Regions from separate parts of the Homo sapiens genome. Here regions 1, 2, 4 and 5 are each linked to region 3. The links are contacts of gene promoters, found by promoter capture Hi-C in blood cells and fetal thymus (Javierre and others, 2016). All regions are on one chromosome and are shown on one strand. The core of a region is centred on a gene start or on the middle of the fragment in contact, and the rest is flanking DNA. Distances in the headings are between cores, read along the strand shown.

The links. The method cuts DNA at HindIII sites, captures the fragments that hold promoters and counts their contacts. A CHiCAGO score of 5 or more calls a contact.
Region 1: a contact is called between a fragment that was not itself captured here and the fragment with the promoter of RNPC3 in region 3, in 1 of 17 cell types (naive CD8 T cells). The highest score is 6.3, in naive CD8 T cells.
Region 2: a fragment that was not itself captured here is called in contact with the fragment with the promoter of RNPC3 in region 3 in 2 of 17 cell types (total B cells and fetal thymus); the score reaches 7.2 in total B cells.
Region 4: a contact is called between a fragment that was not itself captured here and the fragment with the promoter of RNPC3 in region 3, in 1 of 17 cell types (total B cells). The highest score is 5.7, in total B cells.
Region 5: a fragment that was not itself captured here is called in contact with the fragment with the promoter of RNPC3 in region 3 in 2 of 17 cell types (naive CD8 T cells and naive B cells); the score reaches 6.2 in naive CD8 T cells.

Annotation. Positions count from the first base shown.
Region 1 is chr1:100,141,787-100,147,344 of GRCh38, forward strand. TRMT13 (tRNA methyltransferase 13) reads left to right here. Exons shown (of 11, transcript NM_019083.3): 8 at 1,351-1,423; 9 at 2,283-2,357. Among named protein-coding and RNA genes, the nearest start is that of TRMT13, 11 kb to the left of the region's middle. The HindIII fragment of the contact is 4,562 bases long and covers 1,299-5,558 here.
Region 2 is chr1:100,360,598-100,366,558 of GRCh38, forward strand. All of the region lies in intron 2 of CDC14A (cell division cycle 14A), which reads left to right. Among named protein-coding and RNA genes, the nearest start is that of CDC14A, 11 kb to the left of the region's middle. The HindIII fragment of the contact is 1,995 bases long and covers 2,043-4,037 here.
Region 3 is chr1:103,521,828-103,527,558 of GRCh38, forward strand. RNPC3 (RNA binding region (RNP1, RRM) containing 3) reads left to right here and starts at 3,872. Exons shown (of 15, transcript NM_017619.4): 1 at 3,872-4,435. The coding sequence starts at 4,244. RNPC3-DT (RNPC3 divergent transcript) reads right to left here and starts at 3,681. Exons shown (of 4, transcript NR_168321.1): 1 at 3,569-3,681. It also overlaps the pseudogene RN7SKP285. RefSeq lists a silencer at 3,664-3,763 and an enhancer at 4,084-4,323. The HindIII fragment of the contact is 7,657 bases long and covers 388-5,731 here.
Region 4 is chr1:99,850,655-99,856,376 of GRCh38, forward strand. AGL (amylo-alpha-1,6-glucosidase and 4-alpha-glucanotransferase) reads left to right here. Exons shown (of 34, transcript NM_000642.3): 2 at 321-470. The coding sequence starts at 389. Among named protein-coding and RNA genes, the nearest start is that of AGL, 3.2 kb to the left of the region's middle. RefSeq lists an enhancer at 1-801. The HindIII fragment of the contact is 819 bases long and covers 1,592-2,410 here.
Region 5 is chr1:100,123,295-100,129,272 of GRCh38, forward strand. It overlaps SASS6 (SAS-6 centriolar assembly protein), which reads right to left. Exons shown (of 17, transcript NM_194292.3): 2 at 2,588-2,648. Among named protein-coding and RNA genes, the nearest start is that of SASS6, 6.6 kb to the right of the region's middle. The HindIII fragment of the contact is 3,099 bases long and covers 1-2,800 here.

The sequences.
Region 1 (5,558 bases), core at 2,330-4,829, 3.4 Mb before region 3:
GTAGAAAAGGTGATGCTTGAACTAAATCTTGAAAGGTGAATTGGTGTTTGTTAGAGAGTTTGAGAAGCATTCTAGGAAGCAAGAACAGTGTAACCAAATACCTGAAATAACAGGAAAATATGGAAACATTCCTGTATAATGGGAGTACATGGTGCAAAGTAGAGTTCAGCAATGATGGGACTGGAGAGGATGGCTAGCCTATAGAAGGTCTCATATTTTATGCTAAGGAAGGAGTTTGACTATGCTGCTGTCTGGTGGGGATACAATAGAAAAAAGATTTAGTTCTTGGCTTTGAGGAAGCTTACGTCTAGTGGAGTAGACATATAAATATTTGTGTTCAGTATGCTAAGTGTGTTTTGATAGTGGTAAGTACCCAATCCTATGGGAGCATGAAGATAGAGCACCAACCTCAGTCTAGTGTGGGTCATAGAAGTTTTTGCAGAAGTGACAGTTGAGATGAGATTGAAATAATATGTAAGAGTTGGTAAAGTAGAAGGAAATTTTTCAAAGTTTATCCTAGCAGCACCATTAAAACTATATTAGAAGAGTCTGATACTTAGAGAGATTAATAATAAAGATAATTTTTGTCCAACAATCCAAGTAAGAAAGAGGCCAGAGCTAAAGCTATTGCATTGGGATGGAGAGGAGGGCAAGAGTATGAGAAATATTAAGATGTTGGAAGCCACAAGAGTTGGTGATTTGTTAGTAATTGAATATGAGAGATAAGGAGTAATTCTCGGTAGGATTTTTATGGCTTAGGTGACTAAGTGGTGTTCTTTCCTGAGATAAGGAATGAAGGAGGCACAAGAGGAAGGATGGTTTTGGAGACAGAAATAATGAGTTCAGTTCTGAATGTGTCCAGTTTGCTGGTGAAGTAGAGCTTTCTAGTTCACAATTGAGTATGTGTCTGATGCCCATTGGAGAGGCCTGAGCCACAAATGTAGATCAGCCGGTCGTGGGCACATAGGTATAGATTAGAATGGTTGTGATCTTTCAGGAGAGCAAGAAGAGGAGCGAACCAAAAATAGTACACCAGGAGTGACAAAGATAAAGGAGCTAGTAGACAATCTTAGATAAATCACTTAAGATCTGTGAACTTCAGTTCCTTTGTCAGTGAATTGGGAATTTTTAGGGTTAAAGGAAATAATGTCTATGTAATAATTGATAAACATTTTCAAATCTTTTTTAAAAAGTGTGATATTTTGAAGTTCTCATCAAAGAATGTACAATCTTAATTTTTAAATATGTTCTGTTGCTCTGAATTTTGAAAACCAATAAAAATCTTTTTATTTTCATAAAGCTTTTTTAAATGTAAGAAGTGATTATTACAATAATGTTCTGTTTGTGCAGGTGGATGGAAAACACAGAAAGAAAAATTCAGTGTTTGAAAGACTTCAAATTGATATTCAACACTTGTGTTTGAGTAAGTTGTGTAACTTTCCATTGGTCTACAAATAAATCATAACTGTTTTAAACTCTGAGGTTGCTTAGAAATCCAATCATGCAGAACTGTGCTTCAGGGAAAACAGTCAAATCAATTCATTGTTAATATAGAATGTTTTATATAATGTTTTTAAATAGATGTAAATTGAATTAAGGTTGAGAATTTTAAAAATTTTCAGTATCAAGTGGAAATGAAGTGTTATATTAGGGAAGAGTTTAAAAGTTTTATAATATGTACTTCTGTTGTTTCTTTGTCCTGTTTAAATTAATTTTGAGTCTGTTCAAACTATAAACTAGCCTTCTGCCTGCAGTTAACGTGACTTTACCTAAACCATGAAAGAAAATGAGATATTTCTCTGCCTAGCTAATGTGTAAAAGATACTTCCTAGAATTTTAAATTGTACAAAAGAAGTCATCACTGTGGGATTCATATTCCATACACAAAACACACACAGACACATACACACACAAACTCCTCAATCAACCTCTGTAGTGCCCTTTTTATACCTTTTCTATTTTTCAGATTATCCAAAGAAAATAATGCAAACATATCTTTGCAACCTCTTCCATTCACCAATTTTAATCCAGCCATGAAAAGCAACCCAGCATTTGTATAGAAATCAATGTATTTAAAATTATTTAGCTGAATATATTAACTTTCTGATGTTATGAACCCTAAACAAGTTCTTATGTTATATGTTGGGTTCCATAAAGTGATAATTTTTGTTTGAGTCTCTTTCAGGCTAAAATTCAGAGACTCTAATTAGTTCTTTCTTTTGGAAGGCCACATTAATATGTACTTTATTTCACTAGACAGTTAATTCTCATTTCCATTTCAGACAAGATTCCTGTGCTAAGAGAAGAAAAACTACCTGTGGTAGGAATTGGAAAGCATCTGTGTGGTATGGCAACAGGTACGTAAACATACTGATAATGTTTACATTAATGCATTAAGTTTTGGCCTAACCTGGCCCCAACCATTTCAGTGGTCTCTTTTGAATAGATATCTTATGTTTACAACTCAATAATCTTTATAGAGCACTGGCCCTGTGCTTTATTAGATGCATAGCTTTCCTATTTATCTGCTCATATTGGCCATTTTGCAGGATGAATTAAGAGTTTTGTATGTAAATACTGCATCACATTAGACCTTAAAGTTCTTTGGGTTAAATTTCAACCAGAAAAGGAAAATAAGACCATTTATGGAAACTGTATGATTCCACCTAGAAGCTACTGATTTTTTAGAGTAGTTGCTTAGAAAGAACTCAGAAACCTCTTCTACTAAAAGACTATTGTGTTTCAGGATTCTGGGGAAAAAGAAAAAAATAAATGTTAGACAAAAAAAAAAAATCTAAGATGTCTTGTCTTAGCACTTTGATCCATCAGATCTAGCATGGTAAAGTGGAAACAGCATGTGCTTTAGAATCAGATAGTCTAGCCTTCAGCTTTGTTGTGTAACCTTGTCAAATTACTTAACCTTTCTGAGCTTTGGTTACCTCATCTATAAAACAGAGATACTAATATATTAATAATTTACCGGGTTGCATGTAAAGTGTCTGGCACATAATAGTGCTCAATAAATGTTAATTATTGTTACATCATCTTCCTAACTTTTGCTAGTTTCATCATCTACCCATATGGATTACTTGGAGCATCCATAGATATTATTCATATTGGCTGGAAATGGCATTGAGTACTATATATTTGTGTTGGCCTTCATAGTTTTTAAGACTATAGTCATGTACAACATAACGATGATTTGGTCAACAATGGACTCATATATGACAGTGGTCCTATAAAATTATACCATATTTTTACTGTACCTTTTTTGTATTTAGATACACAAATACCATTGTGTTACAGTTGCCTACAGTATTCAGTAACATGCTGTACAGGTTTGTAGCTTAGGAGCAATAGGCTGTGCCATACACCCTAGGTGTGTAGTAGGCTACACTACACCATCTAGGTTTGTGTAGTACACTCTGATGTTCCTACAATGATGAAATCGCCTAATGCATTTCCCAAAACATACACCAATAGTTAAGCAATGCATGACTGTACTTTTGCATACCTTATCTCATTTAAGCCTCATAAAAGTCTTCTAAAGTAAACCAGTTCCATCCCGGGGGTAGGAGGGAGTACACTCTTTTGACCTACAGTGGCCATTTCTCATGTTCCACATAATTTTTTCCCTTGATTCACTGTATCTGAATCCTCCTTTTGTCTCTGCTGCAGTTGCTTACCCTTTTTGAAATTCCATTTTCTTCTCTTTTGCGATACTCTTATTTCCTGGTTCTTCCCCTACATCTATGCCATTCTTCTGTTTATTTCACAGTCTCCTTCCACTTCTGTCCTTAAAATACTAATATTCAGGCCAGGCACAGTGGCTTATGCCTGGAAACCCAACACTGGAGGCTGAGGTGAGATGATTGCTTGAGGCTAGGAGTTCAGGATTAGCTTGGGCACATAGGAAGACCCCATCTCTACAGAAATTTGTTGGGCACGATAGCTTGTGCATGTAGTCCCAGCTATTCAGGAGGCTGAGGTGGGAGGATCACTTGAGCCTAAGAGTCTGAGTCTGCAGTCAACTGGGATAGCACCACTGCACTGCAGCCTGGGTGACAGAGCAAGACCCTATCTCAATCGGTCAATCAATCTCAGACCCATCTGCTACACAACTAATGTGTCTTTCCCTTTAAACTCTTCGGTACTTCCTGATATAGTCCAAACTCTTTGACATAACGTTTTAGTCTCAATCTGGCTTCAGCCTTCCTCTCTTTACATTCCCTGTCTCCTACTTTGCTGTTCAGCAACATCAAACCCTGTGTGCTTTTCCATAGACTGTACTATTTCTACTATATCTGGAATTTCACCCCCATTCACCTACTCACCCAAACAAAACAACTGGTCAATTTTTACTCATCCTTCACCTCAGTTGTCACCACTCTCAGGGAGCTCCCTTAAATAAGATATGCCTCCTTGGTGTTATCATAATACCCTCTGCATATTTTTACCTTGTGGTATTTTAATTATCTGTTTATATATCTAATTCTTCCACCATGCTCTGAATTTTTTGAGTATATGGTATATACTTAGTACGATGCTTGCTATATAACAGGAACACAGTGAATATTTGAATGAATGAATAATCTTGGCTACCAATTTGCTGTGTTTCCTTGTCCCTTTCTGCATATGTGGCTTTGTCTTTTAAGTTCTTTATAAAAGATGAATTGAGATAAATTGCTAAAGCTCCTTCTAATTCTGAAATAACTTAATTCTTTTTTTTTTTTCTTCGAGACGGAGTCTCGCTCTGTCGCCCAGACTGGAGTGCAGTGGCGCAATCTCGGCTCACTGCAACCTCCGCCTCCCGGCTTCAAGCGATTCTCCTGCCTCAGCCTCCCGAATTGCTGGGACTACAGACTCGTGCCACCACGCCCGGCTAATTTTTGTATTTTTAGTAGAGACGGGATTTCACCGTGTTAGCCAGGAAGGTCTCCATCTCCTGACCTCGTGATCTGCCCACCTCAGCCGGCGTGAGCTACTGCGCCTGGCCTGAAATAACTTAATTCTTTTAATAATTTATCTGGTTATTCACATTTCTGAAAATCACTTACTTAAGTCAAATATGAATAAAACAATGACTAAATGTATTTTGTCAGAAAATAATAGTTTATGAAATAATAGATTAGCTATCACTTTCTGCAAATAATGGGTTTCTAATGTTTGTTGACTTAAATTCATATATTGAATTAAATTTACTAGTGAAATATCAGATCATTTAATAGTCATTTGTGATATCTTAGGGTAATAAAATTTTAAAATATGTATATGTTTTTGATTGAACAGACACAACATGACAATCTAATGATTAAGAAGATATGGGTCCTACATTTTGGGTCTTTCCAGTATTGTCAACAGTGTAGGAGTTTTCGATGGGAAATAGCCATAGTCATCAAAAATCCATTTATTTAGTTTTAAAATATACTAAAATATTTTCATTGTAATGTGGAGTACATCTGCCTCTTAAGTTTGTGTATATTAATAATTGTATCCTCAGTGCTTTGCACATGAAAGGCATTCAGTAAATGTTTGTTAAATAAATGAATAAATACAGT
Region 2 (5,961 bases), core at 1,790-4,289, 3.2 Mb before region 3:
GCCTCCCAAAGTGCTGGGATTACAGGTGTGAGCCACCGTGCCTGGCCCACAGTTCTTAATTCTGTAATCCAGGGGAATCAAATTTACCTTCTAGATAATGATTTATTTAAATATCTGCTGTTTTGACCTCTTAGGCATTCGGTGTAGAGTTGATCTCTAATCTTCATAATGATAAATTATTACTCTGTTTTTTCAGTTTGCTTGAGATAAGGCTGTGAAAACAAAAAATGTAGCCGAGGTGCTAAGGAGAGTTATCTTAACAGGGCTAGTCATAATCATGCAGCCTGAGAGAGAGCTCCAAGTGGGCTGCAGGAGATCCCAGTGGGGAGCTGTCAGCCTTCCAAGTTCTTTCTGTGCCAGGTCACCACAGGGCGGCTTCATTATTTTGTTTGAAGTAGATTCCTAAGACATCAGATGTTCTCATTTGTAAGTTCATAAACACATTCCCAAGCCAGAAGTAAATGACTTTTACTTAGCCACAGCTCAATACCCCTTTGTGCTTAAAAAAAAAAAAACAACAAAAAACAAAAAACAAAAAAACTAAAAACTAAAACACAAGCCTCACAAAACTCTTGACACATTTTTATGGGAAGTGAAAAGCATAACTTAAAACTTTCATAAGTGGTTGAAAATTGCTATACAAGAAACTTAGTATTTAGATGGGATAGATTTTGATGCAGAACACTGTACTAATGCTTTGGAGATATGTATTTGTAAAGAAGGAAGTAGAAACACATGCAGTACAGGATAATACATGACCAAAGCTGCAAATGTATGTGTTAGGAGTTCAAGAAAGGAAGAGATTATTGCTACCCAGGGTGATAAGCACTGAGCTAGTTTTTGAAGGGTGTATAATAGCAAAGAGTACATTTTATGATCTCTGTGAGGACCAGTACTACCTGTTTTTGCTCACCATTATGTCCCAACACCTAGCACTGTGCCTGGCATAGATATGGGGCTCAAGAAATTTTAGTTGAATGAATGAATGAGTGAGTAAGTGAATGAGGAAGAAAGGAAAGAAAAAGATTTCAGGCAGAGTCCTGAGAAAAGGCACAAGAGGTGTTTGGGAATAGCAAGATTCTGTTAGAGGAGGTGTAATAATATTTGAATGGAGAGGAGTCACAGGTCACAGCAGCAGTCACTTAGTTGGGGACTGGATTGTGGAAAACTGTTTGGATGTCAGTAAATTGTGCTTGCTTGTAAATGGCAGAGAGTGACCAGGGCTCTACTTTAGGACGAGTGCTGCCATCGCTCGAAGGTGGGGTCAGTTAGGCTATGGAAGAATTGGATTAGGGTTGCAGCAGTGGGGAAAGAAAGGCCAGATGGGGAGAGGCTGGAAAGAATTGGTTGACTGGATTTGGGACTGAGCAGATGCGGGTAGGGAGGAGGAAGCAAAGGTGAATTCAAAGTTTCTGGCTTGGGTGACTGGGAGAGAGGGACACCTTTAAGTAGGTGAGGTACGTAAATCAGAAGGAAACTGCCTTTTTGCTATTCTGTTTTGTTTTGAGGATTGGAGATAGGAAGTAAAAAGGGGGTCATTATAATGGAGTCTTTGTCTTTTGTGATCTTTAAGCGGAAAATAGACCGTGTCTGTCCTGGATATTTAAAATGTGGGGAGGTAAGTGGCACAACTGATCTCAAGTTCCTTTCTGGCTTTGTGATTTGAGCTGAATTTTTTATACTGAATTGTGAAATTCATTGTGTCTTAGAAATATTTTTTTTAATTTTTCAAAGAATATTGCTTTTCTACAATGAAGAAATTCAAACCTACAGTGCTATAAATTTTTAATTGGCATAATTTTGTATATGCAGTTTTAAATGCTGATTTTTTTAATCATACATGAGCATTGTAAACCAATGCCATTTTTCAAAATCACCATAAATGTCTCTATATTAATAATATTTCGGGGAAAGGATATACCATACTGTATTGAACATTTTTCTCTCTTTGGTCATTTTGGTTGTTTCCTATGTCTTGTCATTTTAAGTTGTTCCAATTCACATTACTGAAGCAAAGTAGAGCTGTGAATAATTCTTTTTAAAGCTTTAGTTTCAATTTACTTAAAAAATATATTGGTTTGTTTTAATCAACGAAATACTTCCAGGAGCACCAAAGAATTTTATGTGGATTGAGAGTCATCAAAAATATTGCTCTATTTATTAAAAATATGTAACATCCCCAGTTCTTGACAACTTGAAAATGAAGCAGCATTGTTGCCTGGGGTAAATACCCGGGGTTCTTCATCTCATCGAAGATTAACAATAGGTACACGTGAGTGGGTTAAGGAGCAGAGACTTTAATAGGCAGAAGAAAGGACAGAGGAGAGAGTAGCTCTCCCTCTCTTGTGAGACAGAGGAGTCCAAAGGGAAAAGCGGGCCTGCAGCTGACCGCAACAGGTTTTATAGTCTGGCTTGAGGAAGCGGTGTCTGATTTACATAGGGCCCGCAGATTGGTTCAACCAGGTGTGACGTTTACGTAGTGGGTGGGGAAGGCTGATCACCCCACCCTAATCTTATTATGCAAATGGACTTTCCACTCGGCCAGTGCCGTCTTGTCTGCTCCTCACTGTACATGTGGCTGGCAAAAAGAGAAGATGGAGCTGCCATTTTGAACATGCCTAGTCCCAGGTAGTAGTATTCCTACTGGCACAACTGCCGACATTCACCTGTGCAAGTTTCCAGCTTGCTTGTTTACGTGTGCAGCTCTCTTTTACAGGCTGCTGTTTGTTAAAAGAGAAAATGATTTTAGGGCTGCTTTTCATTAAAAGGAAACCCTTACCGAGGGCTCCCGAACCCTCAGTACCTGCCTAAGTAATTTCTTTTTAACTCGTATATCAAAAACATCTGGTAAATGATCACAATTATTTGTTGTTGACAGTGAATTCCTTTATAAGAAATAATTTGTGTAAACTATAAATTTGAATAAGATATTTCCTTTATTGTTAATTTAATTTTTTGGTCTTAAATATTTTCACATCCTAGTGACAAATTGAAGAATTTGCCAGTTTAGACTTCTCTTTTTTTTTTTTTATAAAATTTAATTTTCTTTTGAGAACTGGAAAAGGTAGTTTATTTCAAATTTGGTCCCCATGATTGATGTACTTTAGTAATGCATTTATTCAGTTTTGTGTATCTGGATATGTGGCATTTCAGTGAGACAGCTTCTACAGAGAATTGGAAAATTACATTCTGAAATATCAAAGTTTTATAATTTGAATAATTTACGGAAACCTTTCTAAAATGAATATACATTTCTGCCTTCTTAAAGAATTTACTGGCCAGGCATAGTGGCTCACGCTTCTAATTCCACGCTTTGGGAGGCCAAGGTGGGCAGATTGCTCGAGCAACATGCTGAAACCCTGTCTCTACAAAAAATACAAAAATTAGCCAGGCATGTTCCACATGGCTGTAGTCCTAGCTACTCTGGAGGCTGAGGTGGGAGGATCACTTGAGCTTAGGAGGTCGAGGCTTCAGTGAACCATGAGCATGCCACAGCACTCAGCCTAGGTGGCAGATCAAGACCCTGTCACAAAAAAAAAATTTATTGATCACAATTTACTTTTTTTCTGTCATACACAGACTTCATCATTATGGATGATCATCTTTTTTTTTTTTAATTTTTTATTTTTGAGATGGAGTCTCGCTCTGTTGCCAGGCTGGAGTGCAGTGGCCCGATGTCGGCTCACTGCAACCTCTGCCTCCCAGGTTCAAGCGATTCTCTTGCCTCAGACTCCCAAGTAGCTGGGACTACAGGTGCATGCCACCACACCCAGCTAATTTTTGTATTTTTTTTTTTAATAGAGACAGGGTTTCACCATGTTGGCCAGGATGGTCTCAATCTCTTGACCTCGTGATCCGCCCGCCTCGGCCTCCCAAAGTGCTGGGATTACAGGCGGAGCCGTTGCCCCCGGCCCTGTGATCCTCACCACAAATTTTAGAGTAATTATTTTCCTTTTGAGAGCCTCAGCCACTTTATGAAATCTGAGGGTTAGCCTTTTATGTATGGGGGAATCGCTCATCATTCTGTTTTCTAACAAAGCTTTGCATATACTGTCTGTATAGCTCTCCTGCCTTCAGTACTAGCCATTGAATAATGGAGTTAATTTACACTGCTTGAGAATATTTCTGTGGGAGTGAATTTTAATTTTCCCAGTGCATTCCTGAAGAAGTCTCCTTTTGTTTTCGTTAATCTGAGTCTCTAAGGGAGTTTTTATTAACTGACCTTCTCTAACGAGGGATGTTAGAATTACAGACCCTGATACTGGAAGGTTTCTTGATACCATCTGGTCTGTTGTTTGGCTTTAAGGCAAAGTGAAAGCACTCACTTATTTTACAGAAACAGCAGCTGACACCTGACCTGACCAGTATTTACCTCGGGTTAAGAAGGTAATAAGTGGAGAATGGTTCCTCACCCTCTGGTGTTGTAAACCTGAACTTTCTTAGAAATCTAGACAATGCATCAAGGGACAGGATTGATAGTTGATATTGGGGTTCTCTCCTTCCTTTATGATCTCAACAAATGTCAGACTTTTTGCAGACAAGTAAGTAATAAAGATGATAAGTTTCCTAATACATGTAGCTGCTTTGTAGTCTGTGGGTTTGCTTTCTGGCTGTGCAGAAAACAGTGAATTTCATGGAAAAAGTTGTGTTCTTTTCCTTCCTCAAAGAGGAGACACTCTGAGGGAAATGTTTTCTGTACCCAGACCCAATGCACTGAGAGGACAGACAGAACAGAGAACATCAAATAGGGCAAGTAGACCTTGAGAAACATTTGAACAGTTGAATGGGTTTGTCCAATAAGGATAACTAGAGTCATAGACTCTGTAGAGTCTATATAGCGGCTAGAACTGTGATATATGATATTACATAAGAGCTGGAAAGAACTTTAGGAGCCATCTAATTCAGTGGCTTCATTTGATAGATGAGGACGTGGAGTCCCAGAGAGGCTACGACACCAGATTAGGGACACTGAGTGACCAAATTGGGACTGGAACCTTTTGGCACCCAGTGATCTTTAGTTCTGCATCAGACTGCTGTGTGTGTGGGAAGCTTGTTAGATGTGCAGCAACTCTTCCCCAAGAAGTTGGCATCAGTGTGACTGTGGGTGGTTATGCTAAAGGGCTTGAGCAAAAACTCAGACTAGTGCCCTCATCTGAGGTTGGTATTTGTTATGCAGTTAGGACCTTTTTAAAATGTGATCATTATGAGTTCAGCCATAATAATCACGTCTCATACAGAAACTTTATCATCTGACTGGAGGGGTGCGGATAGTATTCTAGTGATAGGGAAACTGTTAGGTAATGTGTGGCCCAGAGGCATTGCTGATCAATTTCAACAAAATTTTACACACACACACACACACACACACACACACACACACGGTCTCATTGTGTTTTGGAGGATACTGCTATTTTAGCATTTATCACATTGTAATAATGTCTTTACCTGTCTTCTCAGTAGATAGTGAGCTCCTTGTGGGTAGGGACTGGTGACCAATAGGCTTTTAGTAACTATTTGAGTGAGCAAGTGAATGAAGAGACAAAAAACGTCAGCAGTGCTGGTAAAACATTGAAAGGTTGGCATGCCTTATAACGATCTTATAGAATTTATTCATCCTGTTTTTAAAGCAGTTAATTTTTTTTGTATTGCAAGTACTCTGTGATGAATATGCTAACTAGTAATGCCTTGCTCAGAATAGGTAGTCATAAATTTTGTTGAATGAATGAGTACTTCTTGGAATGTAGCTTATCTTTTTGCTGAGGTGTTGGGAATTTTCACATGAAGCTTCTAATGTGTAGAATAAGGTATAACAATACTTCAAACAATGATTCCTCTGGGAATTGACTCACTTAAATTATAGTTTATTAGAAAAACCGAAGACAAAATAATGGTACATCATAAACTTCATAAATCTGTGAGAAGAGCTGCACATGTTGAGTATGACAGCAAGGCTTTTAGGCC
Region 3 (5,731 bases), core at 2,622-5,121:
TTTTCCCCAAATGAGATTAAGAAGCAAGGTCACCATCTAAGAATGAAAGTGGGAAGGATTCAAGGTGACAGGAAATAGGAGAAAGCATGGAGTCAAAGATTTACTAGAGTAAGGCAATGAGAGAAAGTGAGATCGAACAGTAGGAGAAGTGGTGTGTTTTGGAAACCAAGGGAAGATAGCGTCTCAACGAAGAAGTGGTCAAGTATGCCAAGCATTGCTGAGAAGCTAAAATGAGAACTGAAAAGGCCTATTAGATTTAGTAACTGGGAGGTAACTAGTGACCCTAAGAAGAACTACCTTGTGGACTGATGGGATCAGAAGTCAGGAGCACACTTTGGAGTGAATGGGAGATGAAGAAATAAGAATAATTATGTCTCTCTCTTTAGAAGCTTGGCTATGAAGGGTGAGGGGAATGCTTTTGGCTAGAAGCCAGGACAAATATTGGGATCAACCCTTCTCCCTATTGTAGTTCTCCAAAGCATGCCAGAGATAGGACCCAGCAGTTTTCCTGTCTTCATGCGGAAAAATGGGGAGTTTGGGGGTAAAAGGGAAGATGTAATAGGGAAGTACAAGTAGCCATGTGGTCAAGTGAGGAAAACTAGGGACATAAACCAAAGGAAGCAAAAAAGGTAATTCTGTCTGAGAAGGTACTCAGTAACATGGAGGAACTGATGAAGATGAAAATTAACCCAAGAAAACCACCACATTAGCGGGGACCTCCATCAACACACAAAACCCCTGAGAATAAGAATGAGATAAAGAACCAACAATTGCTCAGTGAAGTCAGACACTCCCAAGCTCCACTACTTTTCCCGCCTCCCATTCCCCAACATAGAAAATCAAGACTGAAAATGAGTTAAATTCACAGTTCTCAAACTGTGCTAAGGTGCCCCAGGTACCCTTGCCACCTTATAGAGGTACTATAGGATATTTTAAATATTTGAGGGAAACATAGCAATACTCACTGTTTACCAGACACTACCTGAACTACCAGCTTGAGATGTTTCTCAATTTGAACATTAGATACTGTTTAATTCCTTTTAAGAATGTCATATATTTGAAAAGCTGGGTTTTTGGCTGTTGCTCTCATATAAAACAAGTGCTTCCTGGAAAACCAGAGTGGAATAGGAAATAAGGTGGCATCAAGGGGTGCTAGAAAAAACTGCTGGGACAATAAAGCTACCAATAACTGAAAAAGTTTGGCAACTTCTGGGCTAGACAAAGAGGAGGGAATGAGAAAGGTACTTCTCAGATACGACCACACATACCTACACTCAGACACAGAAAAGATTAGAGTGTATTACATATTCCTGCAATCCTTTAGGTCAAGCCTGATATGAGGGGAGTGTAAGAAGAGACACCTTAATGGAGTTTGGACTTGACATCTCTAACCAACTGTACTGATAGCAACTGAAAGTGACTAGAAAATTATGACCTCTACCTGAGATATTGTCAAGGAAAGGATAAGGTAGATTTCATTGAGTACAACTAAAAGCAATTAAGTAGAGAGAAAATAAAATTCTGTCATGTAACTATTCCACTCAGTCATGATACCTGAATTACAGTAGATAATGACCATTAAACTCTGCCTGATAGCCCCTGTAGTAATTCCTAACCGTAGGAGGCAGTGGTAAATATAAAAGTGAATTCCTTCATGCATTCATTCATTGAATAGATATTTACAGAATGTGCACTATGTCTGGAACATTTTACTAAACATAAGAGTCACAGGGAGGATGTGACGGTCATTTTGCATGACACCTGTCACCAACTGATCCCAACAGTTGATTTGGCTGATCTGGCTAACTAGCTGGGTTCCCCTTCCTTCCTAACTGCCCCATATATGTCTCTTCCAAAGCTGCCCACTCGGCTGAGGAGGATGACTTACCCCCATAAAGGAGGATGATTTTTCTGTAAGGGCATACGTGTAGCAGTGCTCCCTTGCTAGAAGCTCCAAACAAGTCTTCAAAGAACACACACAAAAAAGCCGCTGAAGGATAGTGTTTAAAATAGCATGACCACTCCAATCGGTTTATAACACTACCCTATTTTTTCCAAAGCACTTATTATTCTCTGAAAAGAACTTTATTTACATATTTATTCTGTCTTGATTTTAGAAAGTAAGCATTGAGAGGGCAGGAATTGATTGTCTTCTTCTTCTTCCTTGCCTCAACTTCTCAACATCTGCATGTCCCATGACTCCATTATGGGCACAATTCTATCTATACCCTTTGTCATTCTTCAGATATAAATACCATATAGGTTGATGCCATACCTCGTGGTAACCTTTCCCAAGAATGCCAAACACACACATTCAACTTCCTACTTGAAACAGGGATACTGAATAGATACCTTAAACTTAATATATGTTCCTCTATTCCCAATGTCCCACTACAGTTTCTAACCTAGCTATACTTGGTCAATCTTCTCACATTCAGTAAATGGCATCATCATCTACAGATGGATAATATCTAGCTTAAGCCAAAAATCCAGAATTTATCCTTGCTTACTATTCTTCATCTGCAAGTTCCTATCAACTACTTCTAAAACGTATCTCAATTCCAGTTCCTTCTCTACATGTCCACTTTCACCAAACTATTATGGTAGTGTTTTTCTCCAGACTTCTACAGTAGTCCAACTGGTCTTTCTGCTTCTGTTTTTTGCATTGCAACCGGAGAAATTTTCATACCTAAACTTTGATTCTCTCCCCTCAACACACACCTACTTAAAGAATTTGTCAGTTTCTAAATGTTCCTCAAATAAAAAGGGCTCCTAACAAATCTACAGCGTCTACGTGGTCTGGCTCTACCTATCTGATATTTTGGTGGGTGTGTGGGGAAGGTTCTTCTCATGTTTGTCTTCTAGTTTTCATTAATATCTGTCTCTCTCCTTTTCCCCAACCAATGCGGGATGACAGCAGATTGCTGGTATACTGCTTACTGCTGTATCTCTAACATTTATTTAAGTGGCAAAAAGAACTGTAAGAGGAACTCTGGTTCTCCAGACTGTAGCAGCTACATCTAGCATAAAACCTCTCTTTAGAATCCTCAAGGCCCTCTCTGTATGGGGTGAGGGGTACATTCCTGACCCTCCGGGGATGATCCCTGCCTCACTCCATTCAGAATCTAGGCAGAACAGTGGATTAGAATGTAGACCCCCAGTCAGAACACCAAGGGTCAAAACTTAGTTCTTCCACTTTCTAGCTGTGTGATTTAACCTCTTTGTACATCAGTGTCCTCAGCTGTAAAATAGGGAGAAAAGTACCTACACCTACACACACACACACATACACACACACACACACACACACCCCTACACACACACACATACACACACATGCAATAATTTATTTATTAGGTTACCTCTCCCTAGAGGCTGCCATTTCTGCGAAATGAACCCTGGCAGGGGCCTATCCGTCTGCTAAATGCCTACTGATTCAAGAAAAAAGTCTGAACTCTCAACGTTTTGCCCCTTAAACTGAGTTCTCCTCCCTACAATGGTGTCTAATGAGTTGACAGAATAACTGGCTAGCTTTATATTTTACCATCTAAATACTGTAAGAACATACCCGGTATTTCCACACCCAAGTTCTCCTCCTTGCTATTCAGGCCAATTCACTTTCCCAAGGCCAGGGATTAAGAGCCGCACGGTCAGCTCCAGATAGCGCTCGCCGCCGTGCGCCCCGCCCCGCCGTGCGCCCCGCCCCGCCGTGCGCCCCGCCCCGCCGTGCGCCCCGCCCCGCCGTGCGCCCCGCCCCGCCGTGCGCCCCGCCCCGCCGTGCGCCCCGCCCCGCCGTGCGCCCCGCCCCGCCGTGCGCCCCGCCCCGCCGTGCGCCCCGCCCCGCCCTGTGACGGTCCCAGCCCGCACATGCGCAGTCGTGAGTCCTCTTGTCCTTGAGCGTCAACCTTCTTTCCCTGAAGTGGCTGGGGTTCCTGTTTCCTTCTTTGATTGACAACTTGTGTTAACCCTCGCACATCTCTGGGCCAATTTTTGCTTGTAAGTCTTTCCGGAGACCCCTGGAATTTAAATCATTAGCACCGCGCCCTTCCCCGAAGAGTCTTCGAAGGGTTGCCGCTTTTCGGTGGCGCAGTTCTCGCGAGAAGGTGACTTTCTTTCTCGGTATTTCCTGGTTTCCAGAATCCTTAGCGCGAGGCGGAAAAAATATTTCTCCCAGCTTGTGTTGATGCCGCGATTTTGACTGAGACTTCTTCCCACGATTTCTGTTTTTGCTTCTCCAAGGAAAATGGCAGCTCCCGAGCAGCCGCTTGCGATATCAAGGGGATGCACGAGCTCCTCCTCGCTTTCCCCGCCTCGGGGCGACCGAACCCTTCTGGTCAGGCACCTGCCGGCTGAGCTTACTGCTGAGGAGAAAGAGGACTTGCTGAAGTACTTCGGGGCTCAGTCTGTGCGGGTCCTGTCAGATAAGGGGCGACTGGTAAGGGCGCGCCCCTCCGGAGTCTCCCGGGAAGGCATTTGGGAAGTGACCGGGGAGGGGGAGCGCTGACAAGAGTAAAATGGAAACGAGTGGGGAAGATGGACTTGTGTGATGAGAGCTCCCCCATCCTACCTCTTTTTTATCAAAATATCTGCTCTGCGAAGTGGAGTTTTAATCGGCTCGAGTCTGGATTAGTCATAGCACTGCAGAAAAGGGCAAGTGAGAACGACAAAGCAGAAGAATGGAAATTAGCTTAGTTATATTGAGTTTTCGGATCCATCCTGAGAGCCTCACAACTTTTTTGAATTTGGGGTTATTTCTCCTGGACTCAAGAGTATTCTTACAAATGTGCATCAAGGGATTTTTTAAAGTCCTACTTCATTTATAAGCCAATGTTAAATCGTTCATTAAAATAGAGGAGAAGCTACATTGGTGACTTGCGTAAATTAAATGCAGAATTTCAACTAGAAAAAGAGGCTTTTCATAAAAATTTCCCGATGACATCTTTTAGGGAACAATTTTTTAGGGCTGTTAAGAGTACCTGTGTAGGAATTTACACAATTACTTTGTTTTGCTTTATATCCAAAGATATTTTAGATTTCTCTTCATTAAAATAGGAATAGCGATGGTGCAAGACTCAGTGGTTTTAAAGTTTCCCTAGGTGATTTTAATGTTAATGTGCAGCCCAAGTTGAGAGTTACTGAATTAGAAGAAAGACCAATTTTGATCAGTTTAAATGTCACTTATGCCTGCAAATTAAAAAAAAAAAATTATATATGGCTCAATTTAAGTACATCAGGTCATCGTGTATCAGATTAGACAAAATTAGAATGTGCGATATAATTATTAAAGTAACTTTTAATAAGCATTGACCAGAGCTCTTCCTTAGCATAGTGATTCTTTTACTGTTGATTTGTGTTTCTTTTCTGATGGTTTTTAAAATCCGTATAATTTATGTTTAAAAATAGACTTCTCCCATTGAACATTATTACAAAGATAAAGCACAAAGGAAATATGCACCTTGAAGAACGATTTCTCTGTTGGTGAATGTTTTTAAACTACGCATTGTTATGTATAGAGGAAAGTTTAAAATCTTTAGATCTGTCATAAATGAAGGAAATAAATTTTTAGTTGGTTAAAAGTGACCCTCTGTGTAGAACAGGTCTTTAAACTTTTGGTCTTTTGAACTATTTGCATGTGTAAAACGTGTGTCTTTATATGATAGAGGTTGCATAGCTTTCATCTCAAGTCTGACTCAAAAAGTATTGAAAACCACTGGACTGAAATTAGTAATCA
Region 4 (5,722 bases), core at 751-3,250, 3.7 Mb before region 3:
GTGGCTTGGGGCTGGGAATGTCCCCCTGACTTCAGGCTTTCCTAAGTGTATTGCTTTTCTCTGAGAATGGTCTAGGTTTTTAATTTTTTAATTGTAAGAATCTGTAATACAGCATTTTTATTTCGGTCTTATTCGTTGTGCTCAAAGGCAGGAAACAACTATTAATTTGCCTTCTCGAATCTTAATAGTTATAAGATTCATTCTCTTTCATTGCTCTGCTAGGCATAAAACACACTTCGAACATGTAAGTGCCGCTGTCAGCTCTGGAGAGTTTAAGGCAATAGTTATTTTCGATATTTTAACTCCTTTTTGTTTCATAGGGGTAACTCATTCGACTGTGGAGTTCTTTTAATTCTTATGAAAGATTTCAAATCCTCTAGAAGCCAAAATGGGACACAGTAAACAGATTCGAATTTTACTTCTGAACGAAATGGAGAAACTGGAAAAGACCCTCTTCAGACTTGAACAAGGTCAGTAGCAAGTTGTTTTGATTTGCTCATTTGCGTCTTTTAAACTTTTAATTCATTGGCAGTCCTGTTAAATGTTTTAAAGCTCTAAGATAAATATTATTTCCAAGGGTCTAAAACTTGATTTGTGCAAAGATGGTGCTGTGTTCTCCATATATCACTAATTAATGTTGATTTGAATTAAAAATATTTTATATCCCTCGTGTTAGGATAAGGATAAAATAGTTCTCTTTTCTCTGCGTACTAATTCCCACTTAAGATTGAAGTTAAATATATGATCAGAAGATTGCCCATATTATTTCTAATAACATTTACTATTAAAACTTGGTAAATTACTTCATATGTAATTTTGCTTTGGGTATGCATGTAGTTTTGCCTTTGTATAACTGTCTCTTTTCCTTTGTTGAACCTTTGAATTGACAAAATAGATTGCAGCAAAAAGTATAGTAAACTATTGTTTATGTATATCAAAAACTTCTCAAATGTGGAGTAGGTAAAAGCTGAAAATATTTTCTTAGCAAATAAAAAGTGCAATAACTCATCTGGTTATGTTGAACTATATATAGTTGATCTGTATTTAAAAGATCAAATTACTTTTCTACAAGGCTAGTTAATAGATGTTTTATTTTCTTAGCCTTTGTAATTTTTCAACATTGAAGAAGTGTAATATATGAAAAATCCAGTCCCCCTTATTAATGTACCAAATGGATGTTGCTAGTCATAAACATTTCAAAGGAATTTTTAAATTTCGCTAATGTTTTAAGAATTAAATTTTTGAAAAAAATTTCACACATACAATGTGATATCTTCATGCCAAATCCGCGCCTTTTTCCAACTTTGGCATTTAAAATCACTGAGTACCTACTCCATTTTTGGCTTTCCTGACTCTGCACTTTTCTGGTTTTGATTTTTTTTTCCCCCTCCCCTGTTGCATATTCTTGTCAACTTGGTGTCTCTTACTAGGCTCTCTTCCTTTCACTTTTTAATTAATTATGGGTATCTGCTAGGAATTCTTTTTCTGTTCTCCTTCAAAGAATTAGTTACACAGTCTCATGGCCTCAACTGTTGCCTCTGTGCTAATGACTACTTTTGGAGGAAAAGCCTTGAGCTTTCTTCTTCTTGGAAGCTTTCAGCATTTGATGACGGGTAGATCTAGAGCCAGAATTCTCCTGGCTCTGCTGCTAACAAGCTGACTTGGGGCAAGTTACATTAATTCTGAGCATTCATTTCTTTTTTTTTTTTTTTTTTTTTCCTTTTCTCTTTTTCTGAGACAGGGTCTTACTCTGTTGCCCAAGCTGAGTGTTGTGGCATGATCATGGCTCAGTGCTGCCTCAACTTCCTGGGCTCAAGCAGTTCTCCTGCCTCAGCCTCCCAAGTAGCTGGGACTGCAGGCATACATCACTATGCCCCGCTAATTTTTTTTTTTTTTTTTTTTGTAGAAACTGGGTCTCACTATGTTGCCCAGGTTGATATTGAACTCCTGGACTCAAGCAACCCTCCCTCTTTGGCCTCTGAAAGTACTGGGATTACAAGCATAAGCCACCGGGCATGGCCCCAATTCTGAGCATTAATTTATTTATTGGTGAGATGAAAGTGGTAATTTCTGTTCTTCTACCTTTCTAGGTTTTGAGACTCAAAATTAATAATACATGAATTTTTTGTGATAAAGCCCTAAATAAATATAAGGCATTGATATGAATCACTCCATGTATTCCCACCCTGGACCTTGGCTTCAACCTGATATTATGCAATAGAATAGTATTAGGATAGCTCAACTTGGATATGCTTAAATCTAGCATGTCCAAAAATATCCCCTGCCCATTCTCGATCCTTTATTTCTCAGCTTCCCTGTTTATTTCGTGGCATCTCCATTTTTATAGTTCCCAGGGTAGAAACCTTATATTCTTTGATGATTTCTTCTCTTTTCCTGCAGTCTCTTTTTAAGCTTGCAGTTTCTTTCCAAATATCTCTGATTGCCTGTCTATTCTGTATGGCTGAATATAGATGCCAGAATAATCTTATGCAGTCTCTTCCCTTTGTTATTAAGTGGTATGTATAAAATCAAATTTAAATACCTCTGTCTGACTTCTAAGACATTCTGTAATGAGACTACACCTTCCTTAGCCAAGATTGTATCTCATTCTCCATCATTAATGTCATAGATCTTTACAGTTGCCCAAGTCATTCCTGTTAATTCCCTTCTCAGCAGGTTTTCTCATGCCTGTCCTTATACCCGTACTCCCATCAGATTCCTTTATATCTGTTAAATCTCATTTACTGTCAGTCTATGTGTTGCCTAAGTTTCAACTTTCAGCTAGAATATCACCTCCTTTGTGAAGTCTTTCCCTAATTTTTCACTGTCTGCTTCCTTTGATTTCCAATTACACAATGAGCACAGAACTATTAAGTGCTGAATAATGAAGCAGTGTCTAAAGGCTTGTTAGTCTTACAGTGTCAGACTAGGGTTTAAAATCTGTGAGAATTGATGAGGGCAGGTGACTCACACTTGTAATCTCAGTGCTTTGGGAGGCTGAGGCTGGAGGACCACTTGAGGCCAGGAGTTCATGGTCAGCCTGGACAACATAGTAAGACTTTATCTCCACAAAAAAGAAACAAAATTAGCTGGGCATGATGGTGCTTGCCTGTGGTCCCCAGCTACCTAGGAGGTTGAGGCTGGAGGATCTCTTGAGCCCAGGAGTTAAAGGCTGTAGTGAGCTATGATCCCACCATTGCACTCCAGCCTGGGTGACAGAGTGAGACCCTGTCTTTAAAAAACAAAAATAAAGGGCCGGGCGCAGTGGCTCACACCTATAATCCCAGCACTTTGGGAGGCCGAGGCATGTGGGTCACCCCAGGTCAGGATTTTGAGACCATCCAGCCTGATCAACATGGTGAAACCCCTTCTCTACTAAAAATACAAAAATTAGCCAGGCGTGGTGGCGCATGCCTATAATCCCAGCTACCTGGGAGGCTGAGGCAGGAGAATCGCTTGAACCTGGGATGCAGAGGTTGCAGTGAGCTGAGATCACACCATTGCACTCCAGCCTGGGCAACAAGAGCAAAACTCTATCTTAAAAAAAAATAAAAAATAAAATAAAATCTGTGAGGATAGGGACAGCCTTACAAACTTAGTGCAGTGTACTGCTGATTGATTACTAGAACTCTAGTTAAAACTAGCAAAAATTGTAAAAGCTAACCTATTTGAAGAGGGAAATTGAAGGATTTATGAAAAAAGAATGATGTGGTTGACTTTATAACTCTGGTTAAAACCGGTAAATGTATCCAAATGTTATAAATGAGAATGTGCCACCTTTTTTTGCAGTAATGGTGTGATCATTTTGTTTTAGAAGATAATTTGAAGCCGGGTGCGGTGGCTCACGCCTGTAATCCTAGCACTTTGGGAGGCCGAGGCGGGCGGATCACGAGGTCAGGAGATCGAGACTATCCTGGCTAACATAGTGAAACCCCGTCTCTACTAAAAATACAAAAAAAATTAGCCGGGCCTGGTGGCGGGCGCCTCTAGTCCCAGCTACTCGGGAGGCTGAGGCAGGAGAAAGGCGTGAACCCAGGAGGCGGAGCTTGCAGTGAGCTGAGATTGCGCCACTGCACTCCAGCCTGGGTGACAGAGCAAGATGCCGTCTCAAAAAAAAAAAAAAAGATAATTTGAAATGTGAAAGATGAGTGGAAGAGTGGTAGAGAAGGGACATTGGAGACAAGAAGCATTGAGAAGGCTATTTTAAAAACACATCTGATTAAAGAAAAGGATTGAACAGCCTGAGTTGAAAAAGAGAGGACAAGGCCAGGCGCGGTGGCTCACACCTGTAATCTTGGCACTTTGGGAGGCCAAGGCAGGCGGATCACCTGAGTTCAGGAGTTTGAGACCTGCCTGGCCAACATGGTGAAACCCTGTCTCTCCTAAAAATATAAAAATTAGCCAGGCGTGCTGGCGGGTGCCTGTAATCCCAGCTACTTGGGAGGCTGAGGCAGGAGAATTGCTTGAATCCAGGATGCGGAGGTTTCAGTAAGCCAAGATCGTGCCAATGCACTCCAGCCCGGGCAACAGAGCGAGACTCCGACTCAAAAAAAAAGAAAAAAGAAAAAGAGAGGACAAAGTATGAGTTATTTTCAAGTTCAGAGGACTTGGTAACCAATCAAATGTGAGGAAAAACTCTGGCAGTTTTTGGCTGTTTCATATTTAATTGGTCATCAAAGCCCTCATATTTCTTTCCTTCTCTCTTTTCTACAAGAAGGAATTCCTCCTCGTTTTTAAGACTGATATTTCTATAGATTCTTCCAGTTCAACAAGTACAAGAATAAATAATGATCTTTTCTAGACAAATCATAGCTTTTTCGCTTATTTCCTATCTCATTTAGTGGTAGAATAATGAATAAAATCAGGCCGAGCACGGTGGCTTACTCCTGTAATCCCGGCACTTTGGGAGGCCGAGGCGGGTAGTTGACCTGAGATCAGGAGTTCAAGACCAGCCTGGCCAACATGGTGAAACCCCATCTCTACCAAAAATACAAAAATTAGCCAGATGTGGTGACATGCACCTGTAGTCCCAGCTATTCAGGAGGCTAAGGCAGGAGAATCGCTTGAACCCAGGAGGCAGAGGTTGCAGTGAGCCAAGATCACACCACTGTACTCCAGCCTGGGCAACAGAGCGAGACTCGGTCTCAAAAAAAAAAAAGAATAATGAACAAAATAAGTACTTCCCAAATCTGAAATTCTTCCATCTTTTAAGTAGGTTGATGAAATTTATAATTTTTACTATTTTTTAAAGAAAATATTTAGACATAAAGGTTCTTTGATTAGAAGACTGAGTTTCTATAAATTGAGTGGAGGGGAAAAGATAGAACATATTTATTTACAATAATAGTTTAATCACTCATTATGCTAGTTGCCTACAAGAGAGACATGGCTAATGCAAGTTAAGTATCCTAGCATTAGTATGAGGAATAAGATAGCCACACCATGTACTGCTATGACCTCAGCTAATTTTAGCAAACTGAGTCATGGAATCTGACCTACTGTAGGCTCTCTGATGTTTCATTTACTGTATATAAAAATTTTAGTTTCAGTGATTTGCATTAGAGGTCTACAGAGTGGCTATGTATCCCTTGGGGTATGCGCTGATATATCTATTGGGCTACAGAAAGAAAATATAACATCCCTTCCTTCCTTCCTCCCTCCCTCCCTTCCTTCCTCCCTCCCTCCCTCCCTCCCTCCCTCCCTCCCTCCCTTCCTTCCTCCC
Region 5 (5,978 bases), core at 1-2,500, 3.4 Mb before region 3:
AGAAAGTTTGTTGTTTTTAAATGTTTTTACTAGATCTGGCCTTTTGAGTAATTTCTTCTCAGAAGTAAAGAAATCCAACAACATCAGTGTATCATAGTTATATTGCAGACAGCTTTGTTTTCTAGTGCTGCTGGTTTTTTATTAGTCTTTAGAGAGTTAGAATCTTAAATAGGGGTAGACATTCCGCTCTTTAAAAGCCACATGGAGGTCTGTAAAAGTTAAGCAAGTGCTAGGAGTTGAAAGTTTAGGAATATCCTCCTATCAGAGGCTTGGGGAAATTTAGACCCAGTCCTTGCTACACCATAACATGATGAAAATTTTCTTTACCACTGAACATACCACATTCAATTTTATTTTTAGTTTCCTTAAAGTTAACTGGTATGGCATTTCAAAAGTGGCAAATATATCAGCAGAACTGACAATAATCCACACTAGAAAAAAGAGCTTCTGTCTCTCAGAAGACCAGGGTATCAGGTAACACGTTGCCAGGCTTCTTCCAAAGAGCCTATTCTCTCCTAGGCCAGGTGGCCACTGATATGGAAGCCCAACTGTTTTCAGTCTCAAATGAAGTAAGTACCTTTCATAAAGATCACTTTCCAGGTAGCTACGTGTACATAGTGTGGGAGACCATCATAACAGCTAGAGCTCACAAAAAGTACACCAAAATTATGTACCAGAGAACACTGGTGAAAGAAAAACAGCATTAGTTACAAGATGATGTAAAACTAATAAAGAACTGGGCATTAAGGTTAAGAATTCATTTGAAATAAAATCTCTACTCATGTCTACTGAGGAAATGCTAAGATCCTAGAAAAATCTAAACCACTTATGCACCAAGCTAGAAAATGAAGAGGTACAGCAGGCATAAGGAATAACATGTAAGAAGTATAATATATCATCTCTACTCTGGAAAATTAGTAATTTAGGCACCTGCTCTGCCTCAGAATGCCTTGTTCTTAAGCAGCTTCTATTTAAGTACTTCCTGAAATTCACCCAGGATGCTACTTAAAAAACCAAAGGTACTATTAATACTACTAGGTCCTTGAATGTGTTCAGGGAAAGCTATGGCACACAGAAAACAGATGCTATATTTCAGTGTTTTTTGACATGGGGTCTCGCTCTGTCGCCCAGTCTAGGTTGCAGTGGCACCCTCACAGCTCACTGCAGCCTCAACCTCCCAGTCTCAAGTGATCCTTCCACCTCAGCCTCTCAAGTAGATGGAACTACAGGAGTGTGCCACCACATTCAGCTAATTTGTGTATTTTTTTGTAGAGATGGGATTTCACCATGTTGCCTACACTGGTTTCAAACTCCTGGCTCAAGCAATCTGCCTACTTCAGCCTCCCAAAGTGCTGGGATTACAGGTGTGAGGCACTGCCCTTGGCACAGATGCCGTATTTCTTAGTTCTCTGTTCCAGTGGCCCCCAACCTTTTTGGCACTAGAAACCAGTTTTGTAGAAGACATTTTTCCAAGAATTAGGGAGTGAAGGATGGTTTCAGGATGAAACTTCCACCTCAGATCAGCCATTAGATTCTCATAAGGAGCATACAGCTGAGATCCCTTGCATGTACAGTTCACAATAGGGTTTGCACTCCTATGAGACTCTAATGCCACCACTGATCTGACAGGAGGTGGATCGTAGGAGGTTACACTCGCTTCCCTGCCTGCCACTCACCTCCTGCTGTGCAGCCTGGCTCCTAACAGGCCACAGACCGTACCAGTAAGTGGCCAGGGGGTTGGGGACCCCTCCTCTATTCTATATCCTTAGTTCTGTTAATGACTCACACTTTTGAAGGTTATATGAGACTGATACTCTAAATGCCTCTCTTCAAAACGTAAAGTAAAAGATTCACAAATATCTCCCTGCAGTACTTCGGTTTATTGTTTTTACATTTATACCATGAAATGCCAATTCTACAAGGCAGCAGTGTGTGTGTGTGTGTGTGTGTGTGTGTGTGTATGACCAACAGCAATAAAATATATTTTTATATATATGTTATTATATATATATAATATGCAACTTCTAAGTGCACTGGGCAAATCTAAGGAGAATGTCACCCCACCCCACAATTTTTCACGTATGTTTTAGAAATATATGGTATAGGCCGGGCACAGTGGTTCAAGCCTGTAATCTCAGCACTTTGGGAGGCCGAGGTGGGCAGATCACAAGGTCAAGAGATCGAGACCATCCTGGCCAACATGGTGAAACCCCGTCTCTACTAAAAATACAAAAATTAGCTGGGCGTGGTGGTGCATGCCTGTAGTCCCAGCTACTTGGGAGGCTGAGGCAGGAGAATTGTTTGAACCCGGGAGGTGAGTGAGCCGAGATCGTGCCACTGCACTCCAGCCTGGTGACAGAGCAAGACTCCATCTCAAAAAAAAAAAAAAAAAAAAGAAATATATAGTATAATTATCCTTCAGTTGTTGTCTCAGTAGATTCCACCACCCTTGATTTCCAACAGTTGCAAAATAGCCTAAAATGTAAAAGCAAAATAAATGCAATAAAAGATGTCACATTCTTAAAGAACAAAACTAATTGTCTACAATGTACCGAAATGATATTTCAAAAAAGGACTAAATACCAACCTTTCTGTGAACTGGATTAGAAACTGATTGTAGTTCAATGCTCATTCTTATACTTACTCTCCTGTAGGAAAAGACATACCCAACCATCAGAAACATTCACACGAAATGAGTTATCACTATCATTTGTATTAAGTTTTCAGTCTTAAGTGACAAGACTTTCCACAGGTGTTCTCTAACTTATGAACAGAAGTTTGAAAAGCACACCGGATTTGAAGCTTAATTTCTTCTTGTTCCACTAGTGAGTAATCTAGCAGTGTTTAACCTAAAACTAAATTTTTCTCACCTGTAAAATGGGGATATCGTGAGGATTAAATGAAATAAACACTGTGGAGTGCCTAGCACTAGCCTGATATATGACTTTGCGGCCCTGATTGTAAAGTAACATCTATTGAAAGACAAACCATCAATTTAGTAACTTTTCAACTGTAAAATGGGGATGTTTTGAGGATTAAATGAGGTAAGAACCTCATATACCCTTACTGCCCTGATTCTAAAATAACATCTAGAAAGACAAACCACCAATTTAGTAACAACTTTTCACATTAAAAAATTACCATGTCATGTAATCAAACTGATTAATGAGAGACTGATTGCATTTTAAAAACTTAGTATGTGGCCCGTCGCAGTGGCTCACACCTGTAATCCTGGCACTTTGGGTGGCTGAAGCAGGCAGATCACTTGAGGTCAAGAGTTGGAGACCAGCCTGTTAACACGGCAAAACCTCATCTCTACAAAAAATACAAAAACAAGCCAGGCGTGGTGGCACCCACCTGTAGTCCCAGCTATTTGGGAGGCTGAGGTTGGAGAAATGCGGAACCTGGTAGGCAGAGGCTGCAGTGAGCCAATACTGCACCACTGCACACCAGCCTGGGCAACAGAGACCCTGTCTCAAAAAATAAAATAAAATAAAATAAAAACTTAATATGTGAAGCGATATTAGAATGCTTTGAATGTTTAAAATCAAGGAAATAACATATTCCCTACATTTATTCATACAAAAACGTATTTTCACATCCACGAATTAAATCTGCTTAATATATTCTTTATGTAATAAAACCACAGAAGTATTATCAACAAGTTTATTACACCTATTTTATCCTTGAGTAAAGTAACTTTAAGCCCTGAGAGGGAGAGACCACAGTGTTCCACATCCTATGCTGTATCTTAGAGAATCCAGAATTGGACAGAGGTATATAGGTGAAAGTGCTCATAAACATTAATCAAATAGAGCACAAATGCTTATATAATTCAGAAAATAAAGGGAGAAATTAGTAAAAAATACCTATGCACAAGTACTTCTCAAACTATTCTGCCAGAATTAAATAACAATGGCCTTTCTTTGATGTGCAGGTAGAAAAAAGTAAACTAACAAATAGAATTTGTTCAATTTTAAGTTTTTCTTCTAAGGACTTCTTTTAAACCTTTTCCACACTATTGCTTATCTACTACACAAGTAAAAAGTATAAACAGCAATTGAGTACTGATAGGAAAACTTGGAAACAGTTGATCAAGGCTAGATTCAATTGTTTAGATTTTTTAATGCTGACTTGTAATTTTATATGGGTTTAAAATGTGTCATTTTAGTTAAGTTTCTTGTTGAACATATGATTGGATGCTAAATCTCCGTTTGTACAATAAGGTTAAATGTTACCTCATAACTTGTATCTGTTTTCTGAAAAGGAACAAGAAGCACTGGTTTACACCAGAGAGAGGAAGAATTATTTTCAAAACAAGAGAATACACTGTTGCTATTTTTCTAGTATCTAAAGCAACATATGTGAAACAGATTAGAGTGTTACTCCAATTCCATTTAAGCTTTCCTGAGCTGGGCACAGTGCCTCCCACCTGTAGTGCTGGCTACTTCAGAGGCTGAGGCAGGAGGATAGCTTGAGCCCAGGGGTTCAAGTCCAGTCTGGGCAACACAGCAAGATTAAGCTTTCGTGGTGGGGTGGGGGAGGGGGGGACTCAGTTTCCGAACTTGTAAGATAAGTGGATTCAACTAGAAGGTTTGTGAAAACCTTTTTAGCTCTACATCATTATGTTTGGTTTTCATCTTCTGAAGTTTTCTCTAGTATAAATGCCATAGTGGTATGATACTGCAGTTGGTATTTAACTTTTTATGGTGCTTTACAGTTTATTTTTATTTTAATTATTTATTTATTTATTTATTTTTGAGACAGAGTTTCGCTCTGTCACCCAGTCTGGAGTGCAATGGTGCGATCTTGGCTCACTGCAACCTCCGCCTCCCAGGTTCAAACGATTCTCCTGCCTCAGTCTCCTGAGTAGCTGAGTTTACAGGGGCACAACACCACACCTGGCTAATTTTCGTATTTTTAGTAGAGATGGGGTTTCACCATGTTGGCCAGACTGGTCTCAAACTCCTGACCTCAAGTGATCTGCCCACCTCAGCCTCCCAAAGTGATAGCAGTACAGGCGTGGGCCACTGCACCTAGACGGTGTTTTACGGTTTTAAAAGTCCTGTCATACTTCATATATTTGCAAAAAGTACAAGAAGAATTCACTTATCAAAGTGTTCTTTACATAATCCTGGAAGAGTTATATTACTATGACAATTTACCAATCATATTAATGATATTGTTGCATATATTCCAAATGCCTATATACATTAGATGTTGAAAGAAAAAACGGAAGGCCTGTAAGTTAAACGAATTCCCCATGCTTAGTTAAAAAACATCCCTAGAAATATGCTGTAGAAAAATACAAGCTTTCAGAGGATACGCTAACTAAAATCACAAATCTTATTTTTTCCCTTATAATGGTTAATGTCATAAGAGCAATATAAAACAATAAAAACTCAATAAAATGTTATTTCTCATCTCAATAGATGTCGTACTCAATAGATGTCTAATACTAATGACATTAGATTTAGTTATGAGTTCTTCTAAATAAAAAGTATTCTAAACATCAGGCTTGCTTTAGCACAACTGGATTCTAGGCCATCTCTGACACCCAGTAGCTGTGCTCTTAAACTATCAATCAAACAAATAAAAGGTACTTTAAGCCAGGTATTGTGCCAGGTGCTAGGGATACAAACAGAAATAAACATGGTCCAGGGGCTTGGCACAGTGGCTCACATCTGTAATCCCAGCACTTTGGGAGGCTGAGGTGGGTGGATCACCTGAGGCCAAGAGTTCAAGACCAGCATGGGCAACATAGCAAAATCCTATCTCTACAAAAAATTTATAAAATGAGCCAGGCATGGTGGTGCATGCCTGTAGTTTCATGTACTCTGGAAGCTGAAGCAGGAGAGCTTAAGACCAAGAGTTTGAGATTACAGTAAGCCATGATTATGACACAACACTCTAGCCTGGGCAACAGAGTGACAGCCTCTCTCTAAAAAAAAAAAAATAATAATTTTTGAACATAGGAT